Linked DNA regions of Homo sapiens: all the other regions are linked to region 1. The links are contacts of gene promoters, found by promoter capture Hi-C in blood cells and fetal thymus (Javierre and others, 2016). All regions are on one chromosome and are shown on one strand. The core of a region is centred on a gene start or on the middle of the fragment in contact, and the rest is flanking DNA. Distances in the headings are between cores, read along the strand shown. Region 1 holds the start of CCDC91 (coiled-coil domain containing 91). Region 2 overlaps FAR2 (fatty acyl-CoA reductase 2). Region 3 holds the start of STK38L (serine/threonine kinase 38 like). Region 4 has its middle 46 kb from the start of FAR2. Region 5 has its middle 140 kb from the start of FAR2. Region 6 has its middle 160 kb from the start of FAR2. Region 7 has its middle 180 kb from the start of FAR2.

Region 1 (4,243 bases), core at 649-3,148:
ACTCCCACTCCGTCTTCTACTATCTTCATTCATAACAATCATATGTAATGCATACATCTGACACATATAGATAAGAGTACAACATAAAATGCCTATTACACCAAATTCCTGTTTGTCCATTTAAGCTCCAGACAAGCTCATTTTTAAACGTCTTTTTTCTCTATTTTAATGCCACCCAAAACCAAAGTGATGTCCCTCTGGAATGATTTTCTGCAGTTTCTTTTGTGTGTTATTAAGTACTAAGATGATCAAAATAAACAAAAATGTCTCAGAAGTTTTGAGTGGATCACTCCAATAAGAAGCTACATTTTTCCATTTAATAAAAGTTAAGAGGTAAGTTGTAACTTTCATCACTTTGTTTTCTTTATGTTTATTCCATTGGGCTTATACTGTTGCTAGGAAACCAGTTCATAAGATTTCCCAGCCCACAGAACACCCTCCTAGGCAGCCTGGAGGATACCAAACTTCGTAACCAGGGCAATTCTCTACCACACAGTTTACTGGTTAGCCAACACCATGCAGGTGCACTCTGCCTGGCATGACCCTTACTACATTTACCTAATAGGTACAGACAGTATAACCAATCCCCTCAACGCAATAGAAATTGTAGCAGAGGGCAATCAGGTGATCATTAAGTGTAGAACTCTCCGACAGCAGGGAACACAACAGCGAATTTGTTGTCAGTCCCTGTCACCCCACCCAACTAAATATTGTGGGGGGGGGAAGGGTTGCCTTAAATTGTGAAGTAAAATGTCAGCCCACTCCAATAACTCCACCACGCAACATGCAAACTGCTTCCAAAAACCATCATCCAACTCCCACCCGGATTAATATTTGGAGAGAAAGGTGGCATCAGTATCCGCACAGCTGAGAGGGGAGGGAAGGAAAGAGTCAGAATTCATAAGGGGCCGCTGAGTCACCTAAAATTGTGGCCAAGACTTTACCCTCCAGGAAATCGAGCTCTGCCCCAACTCTCATCAAGGAAGCAAGTGAGAGTAGCAGCAGCAACATCATCCTACCAAAAAAACACCAGCGCAGCTTTTAATAGAGTTCCACTCCTTAAAGTGAAGCCAAAAATAGGTTTCATGTCCAAAGCTTTCCTCCGCAGTAGGCGACACGCGCAGATGGAGAAAATATCTTTATTGTTGGGAAAGGGAGGCGTGCTAACGGGGACGAAGGATACCTCACCACTTGGCAAAGTTACTGGCTCCTGCCTTGACCCTGAAATGCCACTTTTATTGCAACATGTGGCCCAAGAAACTCTAAGGAAATGTGGCTGGCAGACGCTGTAGAGCTTTTACCCCAATGTACTTGGCAAAGTAAAAGGGGATACATAAACCAGGCGCGTTCTGTGTAATCTAAGCAAGAATCAAGGTCTCCGTTCGGTAGGCGCTTCGGTGACACAATAATCACGTGTTCGTGGGCGTAGACTTTCGAAAACACTCGATTCTGGGACGTGCAGATACCGGTACCCACCGGCGAGCGCAGGAACGAGTGGGCACTCCCACCCCCGGGAGCTGGCTCCGTTCCCGCAGGAGGTTGGTCACGCCCCCTGACTCCTGGTCGCTGCGACAGCCAAGGGCGAGGCCGCAGCAGGCGGGCTGCAGGCGGCGGAAGCTCGTCCGCGCTCCTCCCCCGGTGGGGCGCTCTCCGCTCGCCTCGCGCGGCCCCGACCCCAAGACCCAGGCCCCGGAAGGCGAGCGTTCACTTACCTGCTCCCCTCTCTCGCTCTCCGCTGCCGCCGCTGCGCCGCTCACCCACGCTGCCCGGTGAGCCACCCCCAGCACACAGACCCCTACGCGTACACCCGAGGCACGGCCCCAGGCCCTTGAGGGGAGACCGCGGCCCAGCCACACAGGTTGGGGTAGCCCACGCACCACCCGGCTTCGAACACCTCTGCCCCCGGAAGTTGATTTCCGCCAAGGCCCGCCCAACACAGCGCCCGTCACTCAACGTAAACACGCGCGTCACGTGGCCCCAGGCCGAGGCCCGGGTCGGGGCCCCATGTTCAGAGCCCTGCCACCCCAGCTTGAGCGTGGTCTTTGGAGCGTTGCCCTGTGAAAAGGGGTGACTTTGCCATGCTCCTTCCCAGTCTACCTCCTGTTAGTTACAGTTTCTCATTCCTCTTGAGTAGCAGGCCCTGTTTCTCCACCTAATCCCTGCAAGTAAACCGTCCCCCAAATCAAAATGAGTTCCATCTGGAACTTTGTAGGATTGGTCCTAAGAAGATCCCGCCGAATCTCTTCACCACTTCCTAGCAGAGCACAGTAAAACCGGGGACTAAGCAAAGTGGCTGACATGTAGTAAGTGCTCAAGAAATGGATGTTGACTAGATGCTACCTCTCATCTTTGCCTGTCTGAACTCTCAAGCACCGGATGCAAGTAGACTGAGAGCCTCCGCCAACCAGTAAGATGACTTTGGTCAAAGAATTCTGCTCTAGAGTTACTTTTGTTCTTGTCTTCAACTCCAGATCACAGCAATTCATACGTGCCATCTCTGTTGCAGAGTTTTCTTGCAAAGCCTTTCTTAAAAGCTTTCTGTCAAATAGCTTGTCCTGAAGCAATAGGAAAAGAATAGCGTAATTCACAGATTATTTATTTGAAAGGAAGGAATGATTATATAGATGTCTTTGTCCATTTCAGACTGTCAATAGCGATGAGAGAAACAGTCAACTAGCAGTCCACTCGTGAATGTTTCTTCTGTTTTTGCCATGGAAGGATTTTGAAGAACATTCATTCAACAAATTTTTATTGATTGTATACCACATACCTAGTCCTGGGCCAAGTTTTGACAATTCAAGAGTGAGCAAGGTAACACTCAAGATATTTGTCTTCAAGAAGCTTACAGTCTAGTGAGAAAGAAAGACACTAACCTGGGGACTTTGAGCATAAATCTCTGGAATATTCACATTCCTTGTATAACAAGTATTCTTTCATCCTTGGACACTGGGTTTCTCATCTGTTGAACAAAATTGGCTTAAACCTGTAATCTCTGTTCTGTACTGGAAGTGGAAAATATTAGCAAGGCATCCTGACAAGTCTGCCATAAGTGCTGGCCTAAGTAGTTAATGAGCAGTTTCAGTATTGAGCAAGTCACCTTGACTACATTCTTTTTCCAGCCCACCCCCTTCTTTATGCATACAAAAAACATTTCTATTGTAAGAAATGTAATGCTTTCTTACACATATTTTTTTATCTGTCTACTAGACTACCAAGTCAAGGACCACTTCTCACTTGTATATCCAGCAATCTACTCACTTCTCATTTGTCTTTGTGTATCCAGCAGTCTAGCAAAGTGTCTAGTAGTTAGAAAAAAGGTATTCATAAATATTTCTTAAACTTAGTAAGGTTACCTTTATATTATTTTGTCTCTCATATCTCTTTCTGCTGGAAACCAGATTAGTTTCTGGGAGTTCCTTCCCATTGATGTACTTACATGTTCACTCTGTCCCGATATTCAATACTAAACTGTATTCCATACTAAACAGATTTATAATAAGTAACTAATATTTATTATTAATATTTGCTATGTGCCTGGCATTAGATTAAATATTTTAAATCCCATATATAACTTACCACAATAATTTTACAAAGTAGGTATATTAATATATTTACACTTTAGATGAGGTTACAGATTTAGGAAGTGTAAATTGACCAAGTGGATTTAAAGCCAGATCTGCCCAACAGAAGGGCTTGTTTATTCACTATAGCACATCACTTTGCTTTTTATATCACTTATTTATCAGTGAATTCAAATCCTACCAACTCCATGAAATCTTTCTTCCTTCCCCACAGTAATCTTTTTCTTTATAAACAATTCAGTGATTTTAGTATATTCACAGAGTTATGCATGCTTTACCACATTCGATTTTAGAGTATTTTCACAGCCCCAAAAAGAAACCCCATACCCTTTGGCCCCAACTTCTCCCTCCTCTCCCCAGCCCTAGGCAACCAGTAATCCACTTTCCGTCTGTATGCATTTGTCTATCTTGAACATTTCATATAAATGGAATCATGCAATGTGTGGTCTTTTGTGACTGGCTTCTTTCACTTAACATGTTTTCAAAGTCCCTTCATCGGTTGGGTTGTTTCAGCTTTTTGAATATTATGAATAATGCTCCTGTTGACATTCATGTACAAGTTTTCGTGTCAACATATGTTCTCATTTCTCTTGGATATATACCTAAGAGTGGAATTGCGGGGTCATATGGTAACTCTATGTTTAACCCCTTGTGGAACTACC
Region 2 (4,243 bases), core at 1,293-3,792, 970 kb before region 1:
AACAATTGAAGAATAGAAGGATGTAAAAATAAGGGTGTGTGTGGAATGCTCATTTATTTGTTAGTGAAATGAAATGTTTGAGCATCTACATGCTCTGAGAGACTGAAAAGGAGAGAACGAAAATAAGTGGAAGTAAGCCTCTGGAGAAGTTCAGAGGGAATAAAATTTGTAGAAAAACGTAGGTCAGACTTGAATAGGGGAATGTCATGTCATCCTCTAAAAAGAAGGAAAAGAGGGAGGTTGGAGCAGAACCAGAGACAGATCTTTGGTTATTTTTCTTTTCTCTGTGGAGTGTGAGGCAAGATCATATAATGTTAATTTAAAAGTTGCAAGTAAAGGAAAAAGCTCCTGGAAAGGGGTAAATATTTATAACAACTCCTTCAGATAGAATAGAAAACACACCAGAAACCAGCAAAGAAGCTGAAAGCAGCAGAGTATCCAATGGGGATAGCGATGGATTTGTACCATCTCCATTTCATACACATACTTACCTGGTTTTTCTCCAGCAACGCCTGACTGCTGGTGGTTGGAGCAGGAAAAATCGATTATTGGCAAGATCCAAATTGGGAGTAACAAATAAAAAGGGTAGGAATAGAAGCAGTTGGCAAGGGTACTCTTAAAGTAATTGACCTAGGCTACACAGAGAAGGAAGCAAGATCCAGAGGAAGCTCATTGACTATGAGAAAGTGCATATGTTTATCTGTATCAGGGGCAGGGATCGTGGGGAGTTTAAAGAATGAAAGTCCTGCTGAACTGGAACCATAGCTATAGGGGGAGAAAGAAACTAAGAGAGCTGGAAGTAAAGAAGGTCACTGTCCAAGAGTGAACTGTCAGATTTAGAGATTTCAGATATAGCTGTCTGGAGCAATGTCAAAGCCTGAGGACTTGCCTTGGAAGTAGGTTTCTAAAAATCGGGTGCTTTAGTGCTTAAAATGAAAACTGATGAAAGTGTGAGGTCAAAGCATCAGAGTGCTGAATGTTCATCCACATGGACTTCAATGTTAAGAATACTCTCAGAAGTAGGAAAGGAGAGGACATATGTGAGCCACATATTTGATAAATATCAGGGAATAATCTGGAGGTGACGGGCAACAGCAACAAGGACTGACAGAAGCTATGGAAATTGCCAAAGAGGAGAGGCTTTCCTTTTGGTCAGAAAGCAGAGATCTGCATTATCAACATGGAAAGATAAGACAACACTTGGTCCACCTCACAAGGTTACTCAGGGACTCACATAAAATAATGGACATAATAAGTCCTCCAAGGAGTGTTAAATGTAATTTAAATGAAAATTACTATTATCATGTATAAAATTATGTATAGATATAGATATTAAAGTCTGTACACACACACACAAAAGACCTTATCAGTCTTAGATACTGTCAATACCATTTACTATTAATATATCAGCAACTCTTATAATTTACATCTTAGACTTTATATTAACAATTCTCAAAGCATTTCATGCACATATTTCAGTATCTTCTCACAAAAACCTTGGGAGATAAATAGTGTAGATGTTGTTATTCACAGATGAGGAAACTGAGGATCAGAGACAAGTAGTGATTTGGCTAAGGCCGCTGTTAGTGACAGAGCCAAGACTGAAATTTTGATGAAAGAAATTTACAACTTCTAACTGCTATAGGACAGGAGAAAGCTTTTTACCAGGTGTTTATTTGCTTCCTGTTTTTCCTATACAACAACATCTAGGACATTTGGACACCTGATAACTCTGTTCTATATTTTTTTTCTTAATTACCATGTATTAGAATATTAGAACTCTGTGAACTTAAATGTATTGAATTTGCAAGGAAACTCTAACCTCAACAGCTAATTTCCTCTTCAAGGCTCCAAATGTTTACCTATTTGGTACAACTGCTTTCCAAACTGTCCTTGATAACAAAGACACTCTGTTCTTGAAAAATTTGATCATCGAAAAAGAAGAAAATCATTTTTCATTGATTTTCAGGCAAATATGATGCTACTTTTAATAGAAATGTGTCTACTACATTCAAACAAAATGGGAATATTTCAACACCCAAAGCATTCTTTAGGTTAGTTCTCAAAGGAGATTTTTGAGTTGGAACTCTCTCCTAACCAAAATTATGCTTTCAATAATAACTATATTTTTATGTTAATTGCTTGCTTAATGATTACATTTTAAACTTTGTGGGCCTAATTTTCCTCGTCTGTGATCCCTGGGATTGATGCGACAAACTTTTTGTAAAGTGTCTTGCACTTGTGAAACATTCAGTAATTAGTAAGGGTGATTTTAATCAGCCATAATTTGTAATTCTGAATTTCATCCTTAGAGTATTTCCTTCTTTTGTGTAAAATGTATCACTAGGGTGACACCAACAAGAGAAAATAAACTATTGCAAACTTGAATGGTTGCAAACTTGAAACCACAGCCTAACGTAGGAGAGGTTTACATACTAATTACTTAAAATGTGAAGCAGATAGGGAATCATCTCCTTAAGCAAGATACAAATACCTGAAAACAAAGAGAAAATATTCAGCAACTTCAGCTACATTAATAGTAAGAACTTCTGTGCTTCAAAAACACACAAAAAAGGAAGTGAAAAGACAATTCACAAACTGGAACATATATTATAAACCAACAGTATGAGTCATCGTTAATCTGTTTATGACACCAGGCAACAGCAAGTAAATAGTTCTGTAAGGAACTCCACTCATACTGCTTTTACTGCTAGGGTGTCCAGCTTGCTACTGTGTCCCTGTGATTTAAAAGACACAGGAAAGATACATCTTTAGTTTAGTTTTGTTTTTCCTGCTTCTTTAACATCTCTCTGCATCTTGGTTCATGCACAATTGGAGACTCATCACACGAACAGTCTAAGACTCGTCAAAGTCATGCAACTAGAACAGGGTTCTTCAGTAGCCTCTGTGTCTGTCCTACTCCTCAGTTCATGGCTCAGAGCTGGAGCTCCCTTCACTCTCCCCTCCGTTCTTCCCTCTTCTTAGCCTTAGATATGCCCTTCTCCTTTTCCCGTCTCTGCAGGGCCAGCCGGGGTGTCCAGAATACCAAGGGCCTTCAGATGTTGGATGACCAGTATGTCACCAATATCACACCCTGTGAGGGAGATGGAAACTAGGCCTGCTGGTACCAAGAGTTGGGCTAGGGAGGGAGTGAGGGTGGAGGACAAAAGAACAGGGAGAGGAAGCTAGCTCATCCGAGAACTTTGATGCTAAATTTCCTTTTGGAGCAGAAGCCAATTCCTGTCTAGATGCAGGCATGAGAAACAAGCAAAATGGCAGCAGCCGCGTCGGCAAAAGTAAACCCAGCTGTATTCCTAGGGACTAACTGCCTCATCAAGGCCTCGTGCCTGCATAAGTGAAGAATGGGAAAGAGACCTAAATAGGTGTACTATGCAATTCCTGATTGTTCTTCCTAAATGAAGCTTGGTGCAATCGATTTTGAAAAAGCTAAATGGCCTTAATAATAAGGGAAACACTTCCATAGTACTGTATTACGTGTTGAGCTCTGTCCTAAGCAGGTAACACACACGAACTCATTTACTTCTCAGTACAGCCCCTTAGAGGGTATCTATTATTAGGTCAAACCATATGAAATTGCCAACACTCAACCATTTTGACCTACAAAGGGCAATTGTGCATGGTTCAATCTGCATTTCACCTGCATTTTACAGATGAAGAAAGCCAAATGCAGAACATTCAAGTAACTTGCTAGTAAGTGACAAACCCTGATCTAGGCAATAGGGCTCCTGTTTCTGTGGCCGTGATTAACTGTGGAAATATCTGCCTCTCTACCACACTGAAATAAAATGATGGAAATGGTTTCTTCCAACCTAAAAATTCTATCCACGAATCTGTCTCCCAGTCTCCACACACCTATCTCTTCTTGACTTGCCTGTTTCTTTTGAAATGATATCACTGCTCACTCAGTCACTCAGCTGGAAATCTAAGAATGGATTTTGATTTCTTTATTTCTCTACCACCAGAATTCAAATCATATTTATTAAGTCTATCTCAGCAGAAGCTGCAGAATCATAGGACATGAGAGTGGAAAGGAACTTTAAAGATAATCTAGTCGTTTATCTGATGTAGACATAGAGCACAATCAGGACAATAGTCTGAACTCCTGGGTTCTGGTCACTGCTCTTCTCTGTCTACTACAGTTGTCACAATGGACAAATGCTGTGGATAATACCTCTTTGCTTCTCCAGAACTTCGGGACCAACTGTAATGCTGTAACTCTCAC
Region 3 (4,243 bases), core at 1,121-3,620, 950 kb after region 1:
TAAAGTTTGTTCTTTTGCTGTCAACCTGGCAACTTTTTAAAGGTGAAACGTGCCCTACTCAATCGGTTATACTCTTTTCTACTCCCACACCAAATAACCACTCGTTCGACCTCGATACTAAAGGTGAAAAAAGGAGTGGGAGAAATGATTTTGAAAGGAAGGGGCTACGGGTGCAATGGTAAAGACAGATTCTAAGACTGGTTTTGAGCACTCCGTGGCTTCTAGGAGCTGGGAGGCTTTCCTGAGTCTGTCTTGAGAAATGTTTGGCAATCTGACGCATCAGTTTTTAGGAACGGTACACAAACAGCCCCCACAATTGAAGAGCCATGCTTCGGATCCTGGCTCTGGGTGACATCGGCTGGAGGGCACGGGACGGGAGCGCTGGGGCTACCCGGAGAGGATCCGCGACATTTGTTATTGTTTGTGAAGCCCAGGCGGGGACCCGGAGCGGAGTGCTCGGGGGCCGGGGAGTGGAAGGAGAAAGGAGCAGAGGACAAAGATTCCTCCCCGGGTGCGAGGCTCCCTCTCTGGACACATGGGGCCAGTATCACCCCGGGGAATAAGAGGGCCAAGGCCGTCGCCGCAGGTTCCCCGGAGACATTTCCAGCCCCAGAATTAGCCCGGCTTTCCCTGGACACCCAAAGACACCTAAAATCTCCTCCTGCTCCTGCTCGCAGAGTTGGGGCTGGCGCGGCGAGCTCGGGCCCTCAGCCGAGCGCTACATCCGCGAACTCACCTGCCTCCGGTCGCGCCCGCGGCCGGCTCAGCCTCCGCACGGACCGCAGCCGGCCGGGCGCCCGTCAGCTCCCTTCTCCCCGCTCCGCCCTCGCCCCGCCCCCGGGAGGTGGGACCCGCGGCCTCGCCGGAATCTCAGGGCGGCCTCCCTGAACTCTCGCGAGCCTTGCCTCCTCGGCTTCTCGGTGGCTGGGTCGGTCCGACTCGCCCTGACGTCATACGCACCACAGCCGGAAGTAGCCTTCTGTCGTCAACGCCCGTCTTCCCGGCCCCACCCATCTCCGCCTGGTGAAGGCCAGACTGGTTTTGAGGGAGTTGACTGAACTGTCGCCACTTCCCCTCTCACCAGCCTCACCTCACTGCCGTTTTTACGCCAAACCTGTTCAGGCCTCTCTTGAGAGTGGCCTAATGTGTTGCGACATTAGTCACATTCTAAATGTCATCCGAATTTTTCAAACAGTGCAATGCAAAGAATGTTAGAAATGGAAAGAGAGAATTCACGCATTTTTCAGATTGGGAAACAGTTGTCAACAAAGATGGATCAGCTAAGTTGCTCAGTCGGTAGCTGTGGGGACTCGAAGCCACCCAGGTTCCTTGACGCTTCCATTTCACCATGAGGGGACTCCAGAGACTGGAGAGGAACCAGGATTTGTAAATGCCACAAAAAATACATTAAAAACCTGTTTGAGTTTTCTTGGAAAATCTAAAATAACTACAGTACTGGCCTGCTTTATCAGTAGGATCTGAGAATTGTGCAGAAGAGCACTCCCCTATAGGATGACCCAAAAGGGACAACTTTGGGAAGGTTGATGCAATTTGCGTCTGGGGACAAAACTGGCCTTTGGGAAAGCCAAATGAGAGAATGACTCCCAATTATTGTTGGCAAGTTTATCCTCAATATGAGTATTGGAGGTCTTATAAAATATTCTTAGCTTTTAGCTTACTGAGACAACGTATGAAGCTGGTACTGTGCTTGCAAAAACTATCACTTAGAAATGCCACCTGTCATCTTTAGGTTTCCCAAGAGCAGGTGACACGAGCAAAACACCTAGGAAAGAAGCATTACCTCATTTCTCTTTCTTACACTGTGCTTTTTCATACATAGCTTAGTAGTGGGAAAAGCTCTAGTTTGGTAATTAGTGTATTTTTGGGGAGATCAGCTCCACTTATATGGTCATTTTGAAACTCAAATGACAGTTGTCATATACAAGCATAGGAGGTTTAATTGTGATCAGACAAGCTTGACAGGCCTATACACCCTTCTCCCTGTACTGCACGCATACACATACCATTCAAATGCTACGATAAGATTGAGAACAGTGTATGGTTTGTTCCACAGCAAATTTATGTCTTCAAATGTGCCATACTAGAGTAATATGAACTAGTATAGAGTAGCAGTCTAGGTTAATATGGGATAGCCTAAGACTTTGACCTCTAGTTCCTAAATTCTCCTAAATTGAGACCATTGTAAACAAATTTCCCTGGGAAGTTGTTGAAAGTACCTCAACTGAAACAAATTAGAGCTATGAACCAGAATTTTGGTGGTCTATGGACCCCTTTTCAAAACAGTGTTCTTAAATGCATAAACTACCTAGGGTTACAAAGGAAATTGATAATGTTAACATACAGTTACCAAAATACTAAAAAGTGAGTTTGTAATATAATTATGTGGTAAGTAGTAGTAGCATCTAAGATGGCTGCCAATGATCCACGCCTTCTAGTATTCCTGCCTTCTGTAATTCCCTTCTCTAGTAACTTAGTTCTTAAAAAGGAAATATAGCAAAAGTGATTAGGATATCATTTCCGTGATTAGGTTACAAAAATATTCTGGGCTCCATCTTGCTTGTCCTTGCTCTCTCACTTGCTCGCTTTCATGGAAGCCAGCTGCTGTCTTGTGACCTGCCTTACAGAGAAGCCCACATGGCAAGGAACTGAGAGAGATCCAGTCAACAGCCACCAAGGAATTCAGGCCCCCAGTCCAACAACCTGTGATGAACTGAATACTGCCAATAATCATGTAAGTAAGCTTGGAAGTAGATTCTTTCCCAGTTGAGCCTTGAGATGACTGCAGCCCCACCTGACACCTAGACTGCAGCCTTGTAAAACCAGATACTGAGCCAGCAGGCCCAACTAGCCAAGCCCAGATTTCTGGCCCACAGAAACTGTGAGACAATAAATATTTGTGGTTTTAAGCCACTAACTTTTGGGATACTATGTTACACTGCCATAGATAACTAAAATAGTTATATATTTGCCTCTTTATTAATGCATTAAATAATAAGATCAAGACCTACAGTAATTTTGTAGTAATGATACACAGAAACAATATTTTGAGATATCTACAACAACTTTAATGGGGTAGAAAATATGTGTGATTCCTATTGAGGAAAAGTCACAGGTATTGCTAATATTCCTGTGGTTTGCTGCCTACATTCATGATGGAAGAAATGCTAATTTTCAGTTTGAGTTTAGTGAAAAAATTACATAATATGTAATATATATAACTATATAACTATACATAGTCATATATGTAATATATAACTATATGACTATACATAGTCATATATGTAATATATATAACTATATGACTATACATAGTCATATATGTAATATATATAACTATACATAGTCATATATGTAATATATATAACTATACAGAGTCATATATGTAATATATATAACTATACAGAGTCATATATGTAATATATATAACTATACAGAGTCATATATGTAATATATATAACTATACAGAGTCATATATGTAATATATAACTATACAGAGTCATATATGTAATATATATAACTATACAGAGTCATATATGTAATATATATAACTATACAGAGTCATATATGTAATATATATAACTATACAGAGTCATATATGTAATATATATAACTATACAGAGTCATATATGTAATATATATAACTATACAGAGTCATATATGTAATATATATAACTATACAGAGTCATATATGTAATATATATAACTATACAGAGTCATATATGTAATATATAACTATACAGAGTCATATATGTAATATATATAACTATACAGAGTCATATATGTAATATATATAACTATACAGAGTCATATATGTAATATATATAACTATACAGAGTCATATATGTAATATATATAACTATACAGAGTCATATATGTAATATATATAACTATACAGAGTCATATATGTAATATATATAACTATACAGAGTCATATATGTAATATATATAACTATACAGAGTCATATATGTAATATATATAACTATACAGAGTCATATATGTAATATATATAACTATACATAGTCATATATGTAATATATATAACTATACAGTCATATATGTAATATATATAACTATACATAGTCATATATGTAATATATATAACTATACATAGTCATATATGTAATATATATAACTATACATAGTCATATATGTAATATATATAACTATACAACTATACATAGTGATATATGTAATATATATAACTATACAACTATACATAGT
Region 4 (4,243 bases), core at 1,022-3,521, 910 kb before region 1:
CTTATTCCATGAATGAGATATATAGAGGCGTATAATCTAAAAGAGCAGTTCATTTTAAAATCAATATACTCAGAATATACTTAAATACCGGGCTATTAAATTCTTTTTTCCATGGATGTTTCACATCTGGAACTTCCTGTAACAAAATAGAAATGCTTACTAAACAATCTAGCCCTCTTTTGCTTATACATTAGATCTTTGGCATGAGATCAGGGAAGATCTGGGTGTGAGGCTTCAGACTTCAGATCTTGAGGATGGCTGAGATTGTGTGGTCCTATTGCCCTTTCTATTATTTTACACTTTGTGATTTTTCCCCCTCTTGAAGGTTGATTTTTTTTATTTCTTGACAGATAAAGAAGAAGATAAGTAAACACTTCAGTTCTAAGAATTACTTTTATTTAACATAAATCAGGAGTTACTCATGTTAACAAGCTTAGAAGGTTATTTAGCAGGTTCCTTGGCAACAAACCTTTCAATGCATTTTAAAGTAATATCATAAATTCCATACTTGCTTGTTGAATGAATGAATTGAAATTGAAGTCAGGTAGGTTAATGTCAATAGGCATAATTTGGCCTCAACATCTACAAAGAGCTTAAAACAGCAGGGTTTTATTTTAAAAATTGCTTTCCTGTCTTTTAAGTAACCACAACAGTTCTATTATGGGCAGCCTTCTACCTGAGGAAACTGACACACTGAAGCAAGTGACTTAGTGAGACCAAAAAATAAATGAACAGTGTGAGGTCTGCAAAAGGGGAGACAGTGGCATTAGATCACACTTCATTGTAAAAATAATTGGAGGGAGAAATAATTCTGTATCTTACAAGACATGACTGTTTTGTTCTTTACCAGACTACTTCGAATTGAAACAGGAAGCCTGTTGTATTGAGATCTATGTCTTGGCAACTATGAGCAAAGCCATGGGTGTGAAATAAAACATGGGCATTTTCAATTCACATTTTTCTTAAAAAGTCATGATGCAATTGAAGGTTTTTAGTAACACTGATTCACTGCCTCGATCAACATGTTTCCTAACTCCTGGTTCTATTTTGAGACTAGATGGAACATTAATACACTTAACACGATTCTTTTAGGATCTGTCCCACCTACAGCAAACTGTTCAGGAGCTGAAAACACAAAAGAACCTTGGTAATGTCTCAGGAATTGCAGACCTCAAACTAGGCTCAGGTGAGAAGTGGAGCCACTGCGCTTCCCTCTTTCTACTCCTTGGTTTTCTTGGTAGCAAACCAAAAGCACCTAAAGTGATACATGGTAATGGAGAACCATCCAAAGGTAGGGCTAATAACTCGATCATTCTCCTAGCTCTCAGCACTGGCCTTCTTTCTTCATCATCCAAGATCTATACATAGTTAAAAGTGAGTGAGGTCTATCCTGCCTTTGAAGAACCCATAGTCTAGTGGGAGATGCTGACATTAGTATTATTACTGTAATATAGTGTCATAAATAAAATTCTAGGGGATATTCTGCTAGTGCAGAGGGGAAAGCATCAACCAATGAAGTGTAGAGGGCAAGGGAATGTTTGGTAAGAGAAGGATTCTTGGAGACAAATAGGAAATGTTTCCCTGATGGAAAGAGGCTTTGGTGTAGTGTGGGGAAGAACCATGCATGCAGAAAACAATAGCTTGTGTGATTCAGAAACAAGGTAAAAGACTGTGGAGTGTGTGTGAGGAGGCACAAGATGTTCCCTATGGTGACAATGTAAATGTGGGAAGGGGGAACTGAGGGATGTGAAGCAGGGGCCTGCACAGAGAGGCTCTTGGATGCTGTGCTAAGGATCTTAGATCTTATTCTGTAGAACATGGAGAAGCCTCGAAATGTGTGAGGCAGGAAATGACATGAGTAGGTTTCATTTTCGATAAACCGCAGTGGTAGCTGTGCATGGGATAAACTTGAGAGGAACAACCCTGAAAGCAAGAAACCGGTTAGAAATTTGGAGATATTGGTGATAATCACTGAGTTTCAGTTTCAATTTCATAACACTCATAAGAAAATATTGCAATGAGACAGCGTAAGGCATGGGGTTTGAAGCCAGAGGGCCTGGGTTTGAATTTGCCTGTGTTACTCCAGGCAAATCATTAAAGTCCAAGACTCATGTGTAGAGTCTTCCTTCATGTGTAGAATGGGAATAAAAATAAAGCTGTCTTATCAGTTAGTATGAAAATTAACAAGATGATCAATGCAAATTGCATAGCACAGTGCTTGGTATTATATAGCCCTTGATAAATATTAACCACTATCATCACATAATAAACAGCAAAATAAAGAAATGTAGTAAGAAATATCAATGAAATTTCTGAAAAATATAACCACTCATTCCAATCTAATACTGTAAAAAAATGATCGTTTTTATTCCAGCAAGGACTCAGGAAAAAAACCTATCAAAATGAAAACAGCAAAGGGAACTTAGTTGTTTTCTGCAAAAGAAATCCTGCCCTTGTTGACATGTACCCTGGTTTCCAAAATGCAAAGTTGTATAGTTTTCATGACCTTGTGTTAAGTTACACATAGGGAAAATGCAAAGTAGGTATCATTATTTCTGCAGTGTGTTAACTGATGATAAAAAATATTTGATGTAGTCAGTAGCTACAGATCCTATCAGTACTTGAAAGGCTTCACTGCCCAGAGTTGATGAATAAAACCGCAGTTCTTTTTGGCTGGCTTCATAAGATCTCACAGTATCTTTCCTTGACTGGCTGATGACAATGGAATGAAGTACAGGTGTGAGTTTCATTGTATTCAACCTATTTTTAACGTATTTAGTAGTTTTCTTTTTCTATCATTTTGATGTATTTAAATTTTGTAATTTTATTTGTTTGTTTTATATTTAAAAATTGATTTATTTGCAAATGTTTCAAAATATGGGAGTTTAAAACAACATTTAAAAACCCCCTCCACTTTACTACTCTATATTCTTCTACCCAACCTAGTGGTCTGTCCTAACCTTGAAGATGAGACCTGAGCAATTATAGGCTTCTTGATAGAATCAATCCCTTAGTCATTCTAAAGATGACTACGATTACAGGGCAAATTTTACCAGGAAGCACTTCTATTATTATTATGAAGATAACAGTTCTCTTTATCTTTAGCTCATCTGCAGTCTATTTGTAAACTATGCATTTAGCCAAAAGCACATAAAAATTGTTTCAAGGGAAAATACTCATTTTTATAAGCTAGTAGACTAAAACGATTTAAATCCATAGAAGAAGTAGAAAATAACTAGTCAGAAAAGACTTTTTATTTTTTGTGGGGAATTTTTGGATATCACGACAAATATAGTAGAAAACACTATTTTTTTTAATGAAGTGCCAAACACCAAACTATAAAACTCCCAGCAGACAGCAGAAAAACAGGTAGATTAACTACGGTTTGGCCATGAATTCTTAGATACTGCATGAAAAACACAATCCATTAAAGAAGAAATTAGTATACTAGATTTTTTAAATTAAAAACTGCTTTACATAGATAATGTTAAGAGAATAAAGCAAGCCACAGACTGGGGGAAAACCTTTGAAAAATACACATCTAGAAGAACTGGTATTCAAAATATGCAAAGAATTCTTAAAACTCAAAGGTAAGAAAGCAAACAACCCAATTAAAAATAAGCAAAATATCTCAACAGACAATCAAAGAAGATATCAAATGGCAAATGAGAAAATGCTCAGTATCATATGTCAGTAGGGATTTAAATTAAAACAACAACGAGATGCCACTATATAACTATTAGAATGGCAGATATCCAAAATACTGACAACACTAAATTCTGCTAAGGATGTGGAGTAATAGGCACTTTCATTCATTGCTGGTAGAAGTGCAAAATGGTACAGCCACTTTGGAAGACTATTTAGCAGTTTCTTGTAGAACTAAACACACTCTTACCATATGATCCAGCAATATGCTCCTTGGTATTTACCCAAAGGAGTTAAAATCTTATGTCCACACAAAAACCTGCACATGAATGTTTATAGCAGCTTTATTCATAGTTACTAAAACCTGGAAGCAACCAAGATGTCCTTTAACAGGTGAATGAATAAATAAATGGTGGTACATGCAGACTATCAAATATTATTCAGTGATAAAAAAGAATAAGCTTTCAAATCATGACATACATAGAGAAAACTTAAATGCATTTTACTAAGTGAAAGAAGCCAATCTGAAAAAGCAATGTGTTGTATGATTTCAACTATATGATGTTCTGAAAAAGGCAAAACTATGGAGACACTAAAA
Region 5 (4,243 bases), core at 800-3,299, 820 kb before region 1:
ATGTGAATGTAATTGAAGATAAAGCCTTTAAGGAGGTAATTAAAATTAAATGAAGATGTAAGAGTGGAACTCTAATCTGATAAAACTGGTGTCCTTGTAAGAAAAGGAAGAGACTCCAAATCTCTCTCTCTCTCTCTGTCTCTCTCTGTGTCTCTGTATGTATTTAAGTAGATAAATGGCCATATGAGGATACAGTGAGAGGGTGGCCATCTGAAAACCAAAGGGAGAGGACTTAACAGAAAATAATATTGCTGGCACTTTGATCTTGATCACTTTGATCTTAGTTTCCGGAGTTAAGGTGATAAATTTCTGTTGTTTAAGACATCCAATCTATAATATTCTGTTATGAAAGCCCAAGCACAACAATATATCCTTTTTTGTTTGTTTCTTGATCATACTAGCTAGAGGCTTATATTTGACAGTTTTTCAGAAAAAGAGAACCTAAAGGATATACACATATGGGTAAATCACAAAGTTAATCATATGTTTCCTTAATATAGTTTTATTGCCTAAATAATCTGTAGTGTTGTCAACTCTCTTATTACAAATACAGTAATATGTTTTTTTCTCTTGTTATGGCCAAAATTGTACCTCCTCACCCCCAATTTGTATGTTGAAGCCCTAACTCCCAATGTAACCGTATTCAGAGATAGGGCCAAGAAGTCACACAATCTGCCATCAGCAAGCTAGAGACCCAGTAAAGCCAGTGGTGTAATTCAGTCCAAGTTTGAAGACCTGAGAACCAGGGAAGCCACTGGTATAAAATCCCAGCCTAAGCACAGAAGATGAGATGAGATGTCCCAGCTCAAGCAGTGAGGCAGGAAAAAATAAGTCAGTTCCTTCTTCTTCCACTTTTTGTTATATACAGACCTTTAACAGATTGGATGATGCTCCCTCACATTGGGGAGGACAATCTACTTTACTGAGTCCACTGATTTAAATGCAAATCTCATCCTGAAACATTCTTACAGACATACCCAGAATAATGTTTTATCTGGGCACCCCATGGCCCAGTCAGTTTGATGCATAAAATTAATTATTACAACATTTATCAATTTAATTGATCCCCAAACAGATTTTGTTTTCATTACATTTTTCTATTGTTTTTCTGTTTTCTATCCCACTTACCTCTGTCTGCTTTTACTGTTATTTTTTCTTTTAATTATTTCATGTTTAATTTTTTTTCCCAAAGTTTCTTAAGGTAGAGGTGAAATTATTGAATTAAAACTTGGGGTTCATTTTTGAGATAGGATCCTGTGTCTATGGGTTTGTTACCCATTTTCATTTCAGACGCTGTATTTTTCATCATTAGAGATAGATTTTTGGTATTATATTCTCCAGGTCTCTAGTTAACAAGCTTAGTACTTCCTCTACCTGCTTGAACTTTTGGAGTAGAGTTATAAGTATCCTTGTTATCCTTGTCCACTATTTTATCATCTGTCTGATTTCTGAGACTCTGCATGATTGATTTTAGTCCTCATTATGGGTTGCATTTTCTTCTTTGCATGTCTGCTATTTATAAAACAGATTTATTTTGTAGGGCATCTTCAAATTACGGAAAATTTGTCCAGATAATACGGAGAGCTCCCATATGATCCCTCTCCCTCAGCACAGTTATTTCTATTACTAACTTCTTGCTTTAGTGTGGCACATTTGTTACAATTGATGAACCAATATCAATACATGATTGTTCACTGAAGTTCATACTTTACATTATTGTTCATCTTAGTGTTGTATAGTTTGACAAATGCATAATGTCATGCAGCCACCATTACAGTATCATGTAGAATGGTTTCATTGGCTTAAAAATGTCCTGTGCTTTACATATTTACCTCTCCCTCCTCCCTTGGAGGCCTGGAAATCAGGGATCTTTTTACTCCTTCCATTGTTTTGCCTTTTCCAGAATGTCATGTAATTGGAATCATAAAACTGTGTAAGATTTTCCCTCTGGTTTTTAGGTAATTCTTTCCCCAGCTTGGGCAGTTTCTTCACATGCATATCATGCTCAGTACTCAGCTGAAGAAATGAGGGTGGGATTCTGTTGCTTTGGGGGACTTCTTGTCTGTGCAGGCCTCTCCTTTCTGACTCTTTGCCTGAATACTCTAGCCTCTTGGACATTTCCAAAGTCACAAATCTTGTCTGTTCTACTTTGGGAGATAACTGGGCAATTCCTGCATTTTCCTTCCCTGTGCAGAGGCCTGGAAACCTTTGCTGGGGTAATCATGGGGATCATCTAATTTTGTATCCATTCTCTTGGAGATCACTGCACTGTTTGATGTCTAATGTCTGAAAACTATTGTTCATTATATTTTATCTTTTTTAAAAGGCAGTTTTTTAGGTGGGAGGGTAAATATAGTCCTAGTTTCTACATCTCTGTGAAAATGAAAATCATGTTAATTTTTAATAGAGAAAAGATTCTTCAATTTTAGATAATTAAACATTATTTGGAGGGAGGGCTTTTAACTCCTGGTCTCTACTTCATAGAGATCTACTTAATCAGGCTGTCTGGCAAAATTTGGGTATTGGCATTTTTACATGACTTCCTGAAGTCCTGGTGCAGATTGTCAAAGTATTAAAATTTAAGAAACACCTATATCTTAGTCTGTTTGTGTTGCTATAAAGGAATGCCCAAGGCTGGATAATTAATAAAGAAATGAGGTTTATTTGTCTCGTGGTTCTGCAGGATGTACAAGAAGCATGGCGCCAACACCTACTTCTGACAAGGGCCTCAGGAAGCTTCCACTCAGGGGGGCAGCCAAGGGGAGCCAGCATGTGTAGATCACATGGTGAGATAGGAAGCAAGACGGGGAGGAAGTAGCCAGGTTCTTTTTAACAATCAAGTCTCAGGGGAACTCTCACAGGAAATAATAGAGCGAGAACTCACTCACTACCACGAGGATGGCACCAAGCCGTTCATGAGGCATCGGCCTCCATGACCCAAACACTTTCCATTAGGCACCCCCACTCCAACATTGAGGATAAAATTTCAATATGAGGTTTGGAGGGGCAAATATCCAAATTATAACAACAAAGACAAGTAACTTAAAAGGAAGTTGGACTGAAAAATCAGAATCCCTTTGTGGAAGCTTTTATATAAATAATGAGAAACTATTTTAGGTTTTCATAACGTCCAAGAGAAGTTTTATAAGACTATTCTGTCAGCTTTTCAAATTAAGGCCAATATTACCCAAGTGTATACTCTTTAGCCGTAGATGAAAAGAAACCCCTAGGAACAAATGAAAGTTTAAATGAAACTGCTCATTTAAATTAAGAATGTTAGTGGCACTTTGATTACATGTGTTGCTCAATCAAAATGGAAGGCTATTTTTTTTTAGCTTCATTTAAAAAACTGCCAGGACAATATAGCTGCCTTTAATTACACTCTTCTTTTGATGGGCTTTTATATATTTAATTCTACTTCTCTATTACCAGTGCTTAAAAGAAGAAAAAAGCTTTAAAACCTTTCTGATGAAAGACAGCTAAGATAAAAGATTTCATCAACAATCAACTATAAAAATTATTAACATGAGCCCATTCAGTTATGAAATAATGAAAATACATAGATCACAGTTTGTTTCATGGCTCATGTCAGTGAGTGAATACATTGCACAGACAGGAATATTAAGAAACTCAGACAGAGGCTCTGATAACACTCATTAATTAAATGAAAGGTCTCTGCTTCAACTCGGTTGCTCGACATTTTCCTCTCCTCTGTCAGCATGTTTGTTTCAAAATAACTTTTCACAGACTTGATAGATTCTGACAAAACTTGGAACACTCCAAGATTTACCCATAATCTCAAGTCTGAATTCTCATTCAATCGTGAAACAAAAATTGTTTCTGTTTTATTTACAGAATGGAGAAAACCATCACCATAAGATATTACTATGAAGTTATGTAGTTTTGTAGAAAACAGAGATAAAGATGCTGTAATAATTTCAAGTCTATAATTTGTGGCATCAGCAGTATTTCAAACAACACCGCAATTTTTCTTCTGCCCAAATGAATATGGTCTTTCATCTTGCTCATGCAGCTCATCTGTATACCACCAATCAGTTTGCTAGACCCTTGATAACTTTTTAAGAAGACTGACCAAGTGTGTTAAACTTCCCGGAGGTATCAAATTTAATCTGAGTTGAATCTGTGGCTCACTCCATTTTTTTATTTAAAATTGTAATCAATATAATTTGTCAAAGCTTGTCATTTATACTTTCAAATACATTTTTGTTAAATTTGATATATG
Region 6 (4,243 bases), core at 1,136-3,635, 800 kb before region 1:
GTTTTGGTGAAGGCAGGCTTTGAACCAAGGCAGTAAACTCTGGAAGCCGTATTTCTAACCTTCATATGGTTAAGAACTTTTATCTTCAGGCGAGATGATCCCAATCCTACTTCTGAGTTAGTTCTCTGATCTTGAAAATATCCTCATGAATTTTTCTTCCTCTCATGTATTTTACAAGCAAATCATTATGTTGAAATAAAGTAGAACATACTCAAATCATTTCTTTGTAATTTGCCATCTCAATAGGCACAACCAGCAGAGACTTCTTCAAACAAACAAGCCTTGTCTTCATGTGGAAAAACTACTGTGTAGGTTGATGTAAAAGCCTATTTTCTTTTAAAAACAAACGTTCAAAAGAGGAAAATGGTCTGTCACCTTTCATTAAAAGTAGATCTGTTAAGTATCTGGAAAAGCAAGGAAAGTGTATAGACACTTATTTAAGTTGGTGTAAAAATCAATTCTGAGGAAAATCTCAAGGTAAGCTCAGAGTCTCGGAGGGAAAAAGGAGAGACAGCATGTCTAGTTTCATCAGAGAATCTTGGTGCCCACTGGATGGGTGAATTGTAAAGAGGAGGCCTTCTTTTATGATAGGGGTTGTATCAAAAAGCTAATTGTCTCACTATCAAAGGCCCAGCAGAAACAGGAGGGAGCATTTAAGATATTTGAAGTGCTGTGAGTGTACAATGAATGGTTTGCACGTAGGTATTGCTTTAAAGTAGAAGAAAGTGGTCTGCCAAATTGTGCTTAAGCTTCAAAATGCTGCTGAAGTCCTATATCCCTGTAAGGCTATTTTGACTTTAAGGAAAGGCTTGTGGTAAGTTTTGTTTCTATGGATATAAAGCAATTAGATTAAACAGCAATTGAAAACTATTTAGTGAAAAAGATACCAAAAGGTATTTCTTTTTCATTTTACACTAAATTGTGCATTGTTGTTTCAATTAGCAACTAGAGAACATTGTGTATTTATGGTTATGCTTATTTTTAATAAAAAGTTTATTTTATTTTTAGAAAAACAGCACTGATTGGACCGGATACCATAATGTGAGACCCAGTTATACTGCCTGAGGAAAACCTTCCTGGGTGATTTTTACAGTTGTGTGTAAAATACCATAATTCTGCTGGAGGCACCCATTTGAGTTTCAGATAGAATTTCTAAGATGCCTTAAAAACAACAAAGTGCAGTGTGTTGATTATTGTCCTACTTTACAACTTTTTAAAGGAAGAGTTGGTCTGCTTGACATAGGCTGAAAACAGGGATCGGAAATGCACTTCAGCATTCACCTTTCTCTTCCCAATTATATGCCTTCCTTCTCTCCCATTAGATTTTGCTCCCTCTGCTCCTTTTAGGAATGGCTAGAGGACAGTGCTTCAACAACTCACCCAGGCCTCATGCTAAAATGCAGATTGTGAGCCTATAAGTCTAAGGTGGAGCTCAAGATTCTACATTTCTAACAAGTTTCCAATTGAGGTCCATGCTTCTGGTCCAGAGATGATCACACTATGAATAAATAGCAAGTAGAGTCTGATCAACCTCTGTGTGTGTGTGCGTGTGTGCGTGTGTGTGTGGTTAGTGATGTACTACTTGCCTAATTTTTCCTTTTTTCTTAAATATTCAAATGTAAAAGCTCAAATTAAATAACAAAACAAAAGAAAAAACTCATTTCTCACTTTTAATCCATAAACATCCACTTGATTAAGTCAGTCAATCCAAGCAGCTATAAAGAAGAGGATCTGAAGGGAATTAGAGTTCAATTCTCATTGCCATTGATCAATGGGTAATTGTGCTTTCACCTCTATTTAATAAATCGTGCTAAGAAAGTAACAGATCTAGCAGAGATACCAAGGGCATTTGCAGCACAGAACCGGGATGCTTTGCTGATATTTTTCTTCGGATCCCATCATTAATTGTGTTAGCTTTCACTTTCTCAGATCTTCCAAACATATCTCTCAGTAAATTAGGCATTGGGATAGATGACCATCTTTGTAATCAGAGGCTATCATGTCCTGACTCTATTCTCACATAAGAGTTATATTGCCTTAGTGCTACCCAATAACCCAATAAGCAATGAGTTCACTCTCATCCAATTATGTGAGGACTTTTTATGCCAAGCAAATTCAGGGATTCAGGTAAAGGATGAGTTATACTTTTCTGTGGGGGGGATGGTGAGGGGAAATAGTCTCACTCTGACACCCAGGCTAGAGTGCAGTGGTGCCATCTCGGCTCACTGCAACCTCTGCTTACCAGGTTCAAGCAATTCTCGTGTCTCAGCCTCCCCAGTAACTGGGATTACAAGAGTGTGCCACCACGCCCAGCTCATTTTTTTTTTTTTTTTTTGTATATTTAGTAGCGACAGGGTTTTGCCATGTTGTCCAGGCTGATCTGGAATCCCTGATCTCAGGCAATCTGCCTACCTTGGCCTCCCAAAGTGCTGGGATTACAGGCGTGAGCCACCGTGCCTGGCTGTGGTTCAGCTTCTCTTAATTTGTTCAAAGATGACCTGAGAATACGTCTACTCAATTTTTCTATCGTCACCTTTTTTCTCTTATTCTCAATTTTCTGTCCTTTTTTATTGTTAATAAAAACAAGTGAGAGCAATAAAAAATCTGTGCAGGCAAATTTATTATTGTATCAACTGTTGTTGAGGGAGGAGACAAGCAGACCATATGCTGTACCTGATGACTCAGGACTAGAGCAATTGAGGCCCGGAGCAGGTAAATTTCCCCTGAAATTCCTAAGGCTTGCTGTATACTGGTACTTTACTAAATATCTTCTGACAAACGGTCAAAGGACAGTAAGGCCATAGAAATGGGGCAAAGGGAGAGAATACAAAGATGGATGAAGTGCTTGACATTGGGGGAGGATTGGAGGCGAGTCCTCAGGGAGGACTGGGGCAATTTGTCAACAGGAAAAGATGGCTCAGAGAATAGAAAAGGAAACAGGGACAAGTAAGAAGAAGGAAGAATTACAACTTGTCCCCTAAATAAAGCTGAATCTAGATATACGATTTTGGACAAAGATTAATTAGCTAAAGAGATAAGTCTCTATTGCTACTGAGGCCACAGTGAAACAACGAATTTTCCGGTACGAAAAGAGTTTGACCAAGAGTTTCTTAAGTGCTCATGGGGTATAAAAGAGAAAAGTGTTTCTTAAAGGCAGTACACAGGTGACTTGCTGGGGGCCTGGAAAGGAAGGGAGAGTGAGAGAGAAAGTGGTAGTGAGTGTGCTGCTTTTTGGAAGCCAGTTTCTGCCCAAAGTTTCTGCAAGAATTCAGACTCATAAAGGGCATCCTACTTTCTAAACTTACTGTTTGCTTTCCAGCATCTCACTCCATAAATGACACTAACGTAACCGAGCTCCAAAAGCTGAAGCATAAAAGGAAAGTCCATTCTTTTAAAATTCCAAGTCCTCCTCCCAGGGTCAGGTTGAGGGCATCTTGGCAAATCAGAAAAAGGGGGGAGTCATTTTTCCACAGGCTTTGCTTAAAATAAATAGTTATTTTAAGTTCTTTTATAAGTTGGAGAAATAGAAAACACCTTAGGGGCAATATGCTCTTATTTTGTAGGAGAGTGAGGGAGGTAACGTGCCCCTGGTTACATAGCTAATGAGTGATTTGATAGGAACTTGGTTATTATCCATTTTTTAAAACTCCCAGCATAGTATTCATTTTCATTTGCTTTAAAGTCATGCATCAGTTTTCTTTCAGTAATGTTTTTCATGGAGTATAGAATGAAGGCTTCTTTCAAACAAGAACAGGATTAAAGACAGAAGATGGATGTAAAAGATGTTTCCATATGTTGATGATGTTCTTCCAATAGTGATGATTTTAGGGTATACTCAGGGACCTCTAGTATATTTCAGCACTCCAACTGGCTGACTGTTCTGCCTCAGAGATTAATTAGGAAGTGATGGAGAAAGAACCACGGCATTAGTTTTGGCATATTTCCTCATCACTCAAACCCTCTGCATGTATCATGACATTCCCCTTGGTCATATCTGACTTCAGAAAAGATATAAGCTTGTGTGCTTTTTTTTTAAAACCCGTTTGGATTTTCATTCTCAGCCAGTTTGCCTGTAAAAGCCTCTGTGGGAATTACTCCTGATTAGGACAACATCCATTAGGGAAGAACTGATAAATTACAGAAATACTGTCCTCTGCACAGAGCAATGAGGCCCTTGGGACCCCAGTTAATGCTCCAGATTTGTGGTCACTTTGCTGTTTCCCCACAAGCAGATTTCAGCAGC
Region 7 (4,243 bases), core at 920-3,419, 780 kb before region 1:
ACTGGAGTCTTCTTTCTTACATCAAAAATGTAAAACAAAAGAAAGAAAACATTAAAAATGTAAGAGAAACCTGGAGTTAAATGTTAACTGAAGTCACCAGCTAATAAACTTGGTCAAGAAATGAGTAGATATTTCTTCTCTTTTTCTAGCCTTATTATGCATTTACTAAAATGACAGTTAGAAGTCTCTATGTTCCTTGACCCTTCCTTTTATGCTGAAGCATATCTTGATGATGCAATATTGATATGATAAATCAACTATGGAATTCAATTTGTTGTTGCGAAAAATCAGAGTGGTAGGTACTTCAAGCTAGGCAAGTGGACTGTTTCCAGAAGTATGTACAGTAAAAGAAATGAAGAGACTAGGTAAAAACCAGGGAAGGCATAATTCTCAGGCTGATTAGAGGCTACAGGTCAAGCTGACACTGTCAACTGTCATGGCCTAACCTTGTTTCATTCTGGTTTTAGTGTTCAAGAAGCGTTACTTGTTTATTTCTTCATTCGCTCCAAGCTACTCACCCCACTGAAATTGGATTAAGTTAAAACTGTGGGGTTTCTCTTGGAGGCCTCAAAAAACTATGCCCCACAGCTTTTCATCAGTGTCTCAACTGTGTCTGCCAACAGTGAAGGTCTCTCAGGGAGAAACATGTCATCAAAAATTGCAAGTTCTCAGTCACACCTTTTGATGAAAAAAAAAAAAAAAAAGTTTCTCCTCCCCACCCCACCCCACCCCGGCCTCTGCTCTTACAGGGAACTCCTTAAATAAAACAAACAAGCTCTACACCTCTCCAGGGTCACTCTTAACCTTGTCAAGACTGTTTTTTCCCCAGTAACCTGGTGGTCTTGGCAAAACTTCATGCAGGTTCCCATGCTACACATCCAGAGATTGTGGGGTTTGGTGGTTACAGGGAATGAGCCAGAGAGTCTTGCATTTTAGTCTTGCCGAGCAACTCAACTCTCTGACCTTGCAGATGAGTCATTTGGATACCATTGACTGAAAGGGAGAATTGGGGGCAAATATAGGAATCTCTGAAATCCAGATGCTGTTTGTGAGTTATGTCTTCCCAGATCAAATAAACAAGCTCAAAAAGCAGTCACCCTGGCCACCATGGAAAAATATTATGTGCCCCAGATACTTCTGTGGCTGGTGGGTGGCTAAATTAGGTTCTTGTTTTGTCTAAAGGCATTTGAGTATATGTAAAAAATTATACAGCAAAAATCTGGTGTCTTGAATCTCTCTAATCATGAACACTACTAGTCTTAAAATAAGTCATTGACAAAGCATAAACATAAATTAAAATACAATTTACCAGTAAAACACATTGCTTGCCTATTGCAGAAAAGCTAAAAGCACCGAGTTAAAACATTTAGATGTCCTAGATCGTTACTTACAGTTATGCTATTCTGGAATCACATGGAAACCATTATTAACTGTTGTAACGAAAACCTGAAGACCCACAGGTTTCTCAGAACAAAGCTATATATGACTTGACATTTCTTGTATGACATCCAATCTTGCTGAGAGAAAGAAAAAAAGTTTCACTAAGATCCAATTTCCATCAAGAGGGTAGCCAACATTTAAATTCTTTATCTAGTTATGGTATGCTTCAGAGCATTCATTGGTTTTGGGTGTTTACTTCTCTCCATCTGTAAAGTTCTAGAATAGATGGTCTGGAATTCCTGCTTCTTTCGTTTTTATCCTTTCAACCAAACACCCAAGGAATGCAATGAGCCACTCCATCTGGCACCTCATACCTTTTCACATGATGGAAGAAAACTTCTGAGTTACCCAAATTTTGCCCTTTTTCTCCTCCTTCCCATCTCCTCTTTTATTATCTGGGGTGCTCCTTGGTTAAAAAATGTTTTGCTGTTCCTTGGATGCCAGAAAGGGTGTTCTCTACTTTTCTTCAGCTATCTAGGGTCTTCTCTTGAGGCCTTTGAGCAACCAGCCAATTAATGAACTGCTACCTTAGCAATTATATTAATGGAAGAAGGTTTGATGGAAAAGTAAAACAATCAAAAAGATTTGGGAGGTAGAAACTTTTGGGTCCACACTAAACTTTGAGAGGTTATTTTCTCTTCTCTAGACCCTGCTTTCTTCATTGGTAAAATGATGGGGTTGGATAAGATGCTCAGACCTTTCTAAGCCCACAATTTAATAATTTAATAATTTTTTCCCTTTTCACATAATTTATGTGCATTATAAGAGTGGCTCTTTGGAAATCTTTCTTTAGAGTGTTGCCTCTTTTTGACTTAAATTTTCTAAGATGAGAATTTTGGGATATACAGGAGCTAAGAGTAATCCATGGCAGAGATTTCTGGATTGGTAGGGCCATTTAAAGTTCCATAAACCAGGTAATAAAATAACAAGTTAACATTTATTAAGCACTTTATGTGTATGAAAATCATCATGTTATTTTAATGCGTGTTAACTAATTTCATCTTTGGTATAACAGGTAAATATGATTATCATTGTTTTACACATAAGAAATATGACGAATAGAGAGGCTGCCCACAATGTGTTGCCCCAGGGTACACAGCTGGTAAGTGACACAGCTGAGATGTGAGCCCAGGCAGTCTGGCCAGGAAGCCATGATCTTTAAAAATGAATGCTATGCTGAGGAGGTTCTTACACAGGATTCATACTTTTTGCTGGCCTTGCCTACATAATTTTACAAACCTCATTTTAGAACCAGCTTCTTCATCCATAGACTCCACAACATCACCATTGGCCCTAAAATTCCAGCACAAACTATGGTCTCATTGATCACTTTAATAAAAGCAAGCAAACCCTCCATCCAGTTTTCTATCATTCTGTGTGCACAACTAACAACTTAGCTATGAAAATCTACTTATCACCCAAGGTTGAAAGCCCCAAGTCCTCGATTTAACGTCTTGCCCTGCATTTTTTCCTAAACTTATAACCACTTTCCCTGGTATATCTGCCAGGCTGAAACTCTACCTTCTTCATGGCCATTTCTGATTAAAGTTGGTAGCTCTCTTATCTATTCATTTAAAAATAGTTCTTAATGATTTACCATGAACTCAATATCATGCTAAGACATAGGATAACCATGTAAAGTAGGAAATACAGTCCTTGAGCTGATTTGAGTTTAAAGTCAAGACTGAAAAAATGCCCAAGAAGTTATTACAACAAAAAATAACCAACTCCCCGTGTGCTAGGGATACAATAAAATTAAATTATATAAACTCTTCAGATTAAAATGTATGTATTTTTCAAAAAAGCAAGTGTAAAAATGATATTTCTAATTCCAATTTTTTACATTCCTATAATTTTGTATTTTTTTATAGAACAAGTAATCCTAAACTTAGAGACATGATAATATACATATCCATGTGTGTACCAATGCTAAGGAAAAATAATTACTGTTACCCATATCTTGATAATAGAAAAATGGCAGTTCTAATCTTCCCCTGTCTTGCATGCTGTCCTTCACTACCTTGCCTTGATTGACATCTCTGATGCACCTGCACTGTACCACAGGCCAGATGTGCACTGATTAATTCATCCTGTAACTTCTGTAAACTTCCATAAATTTCTTACTCCGGGATCTTTTAGGCTGAAAATAATATCAAAATACTTTATAAACTTTCCTGGAATTTTAGGATATTAGGAACAAGAGAGAAGTGTTGGATGAACTCTAGAAAAACCCCTTACATTTTTCGGATATTGGCTTTAGCTTCACAAATTCAGACAGCAATGGCTCTCCAAGTCTTACTAGATAATTGAGTCACGTATCTACTTTTAGACCTTCTCAGCATGTCTCGTATCTAAGGGCTGTTTCCCTATAGTGCTTCTGGTAGTCTTTTCTCTTTACCTTTTTATCAGGCTAATTCAAATTTCTTCTTCAAATCTTGGTTTAGATGTATGTTTTCTTCAGGATGCCTTTTCTGACTCTCTCTGCCTTAGCTGCTTCTCCTCTGTGTCTCCACAGCATCTCATAACAGCACCCTTATCACCATCAGTCTCTCCCAGTGGACTGTGAGTACCACTGACTGCCAATGCCACCAGGAACAGATACAATTTCAATCTTTAGCCCATTGCAGGCTCAGAGTGAGTGCTCATATTTAAGTACAAAGGAATGAATAAAATACATGTTCTTTTTGAGTTCTCCTTGAGGAAAGGAGGGCATATTCCTGGAAAGGGTCTAAATGGAAGACAGTGTGTCCTAAAGAGTACTACCTCTTAAAGATAGGGTAGATTCATTTAACAAAATATGGCT

Evidence for each region. Contacts are between HindIII fragments. The CHiCAGO score rates a contact against its expected background, and 5 or more counts as called.
Region 2: a fragment that was not itself captured here is called in contact with the fragment with the promoter of CCDC91 in region 1 in 1 of 17 cell types (erythroblasts); the score reaches 5.8 in erythroblasts.
Region 3: a contact is called between a fragment that was not itself captured here and the fragment with the promoter of CCDC91 in region 1, in 4 of 17 cell types (non-activated CD4 T cells, total CD8 T cells, naive CD8 T cells and 1 more). The highest score is 6.8, in non-activated CD4 T cells.
Region 4: a fragment that was not itself captured here is called in contact with the fragment with the promoter of CCDC91 in region 1 in 2 of 17 cell types (naive CD8 T cells and fetal thymus); the score reaches 5.6 in naive CD8 T cells.
Region 5: a fragment that was not itself captured here is called in contact with the fragment with the promoter of CCDC91 in region 1 in 1 of 17 cell types (endothelial precursors); the score reaches 5.6 in endothelial precursors.
Region 6: a fragment that was not itself captured here is called in contact with the fragment with the promoter of CCDC91 in region 1 in 1 of 17 cell types (endothelial precursors); the score reaches 9.0 in endothelial precursors.
Region 7: a fragment that was not itself captured here is called in contact with the fragment with the promoter of CCDC91 in region 1 in 1 of 17 cell types (endothelial precursors); the score reaches 6.7 in endothelial precursors.

What each region holds. Positions count from the first base shown.
Region 1 is chr12:28,188,111-28,192,353 of GRCh38, reverse strand. It overlaps CCDC91 (coiled-coil domain containing 91), which reads right to left and starts at 1,898. Exons shown (of 13, transcript NM_018318.5): 1 at 1,713-1,898. It overlaps LOC729291 (a long non-coding RNA gene), which reads left to right and starts at 1,616. Exons shown (of 1, transcript NR_148936.1): 1 at 1,616-4,243. RefSeq lists silencers at 444-738, 1,422-1,851, 1,882-1,931. The HindIII fragment of the contact is 1,439 bases long and covers 1,098-2,536 here.
Region 2 is chr12:29,163,362-29,167,604 of GRCh38, reverse strand. All of the region lies in intron 1 of FAR2 (fatty acyl-CoA reductase 2), which reads right to left. Among named protein-coding and RNA genes, the nearest start is that of FAR2, 16 kb to the right of the region's middle. The HindIII fragment of the contact is 1,765 bases long and covers 1,660-3,424 here.
Region 3 is chr12:27,240,826-27,245,068 of GRCh38, reverse strand. It overlaps STK38L (serine/threonine kinase 38 like), which reads right to left and starts at 783. Exons shown (of 14, transcript NM_015000.4): 1 at 737-783. RefSeq lists a silencer at 715-954 and an enhancer at 2,013-2,072. The HindIII fragment of the contact is 786 bases long and covers 1,978-2,763 here.
Region 4 is chr12:29,101,342-29,105,584 of GRCh38, reverse strand. No RefSeq gene overlaps it. Among named protein-coding and RNA genes, the nearest start is that of FAR2, 46 kb to the left of the region's middle. The HindIII fragment of the contact is 3,674 bases long and covers 435-4,108 here.
Region 5 is chr12:29,004,493-29,008,735 of GRCh38, reverse strand. No RefSeq gene overlaps it. Among named protein-coding and RNA genes, the nearest start is that of FAR2, 140 kb to the left of the region's middle. The HindIII fragment of the contact is 1,379 bases long and covers 1,360-2,738 here.
Region 6 is chr12:28,988,196-28,992,438 of GRCh38, reverse strand. No RefSeq gene overlaps it. Among named protein-coding and RNA genes, the nearest start is that of FAR2, 160 kb to the left of the region's middle. The HindIII fragment of the contact is 3,267 bases long and covers 752-4,018 here.
Region 7 is chr12:28,971,077-28,975,319 of GRCh38, reverse strand. No RefSeq gene overlaps it. Among named protein-coding and RNA genes, the nearest start is that of FAR2, 180 kb to the left of the region's middle. The HindIII fragment of the contact is 7,454 bases long and covers 1-4,243 here.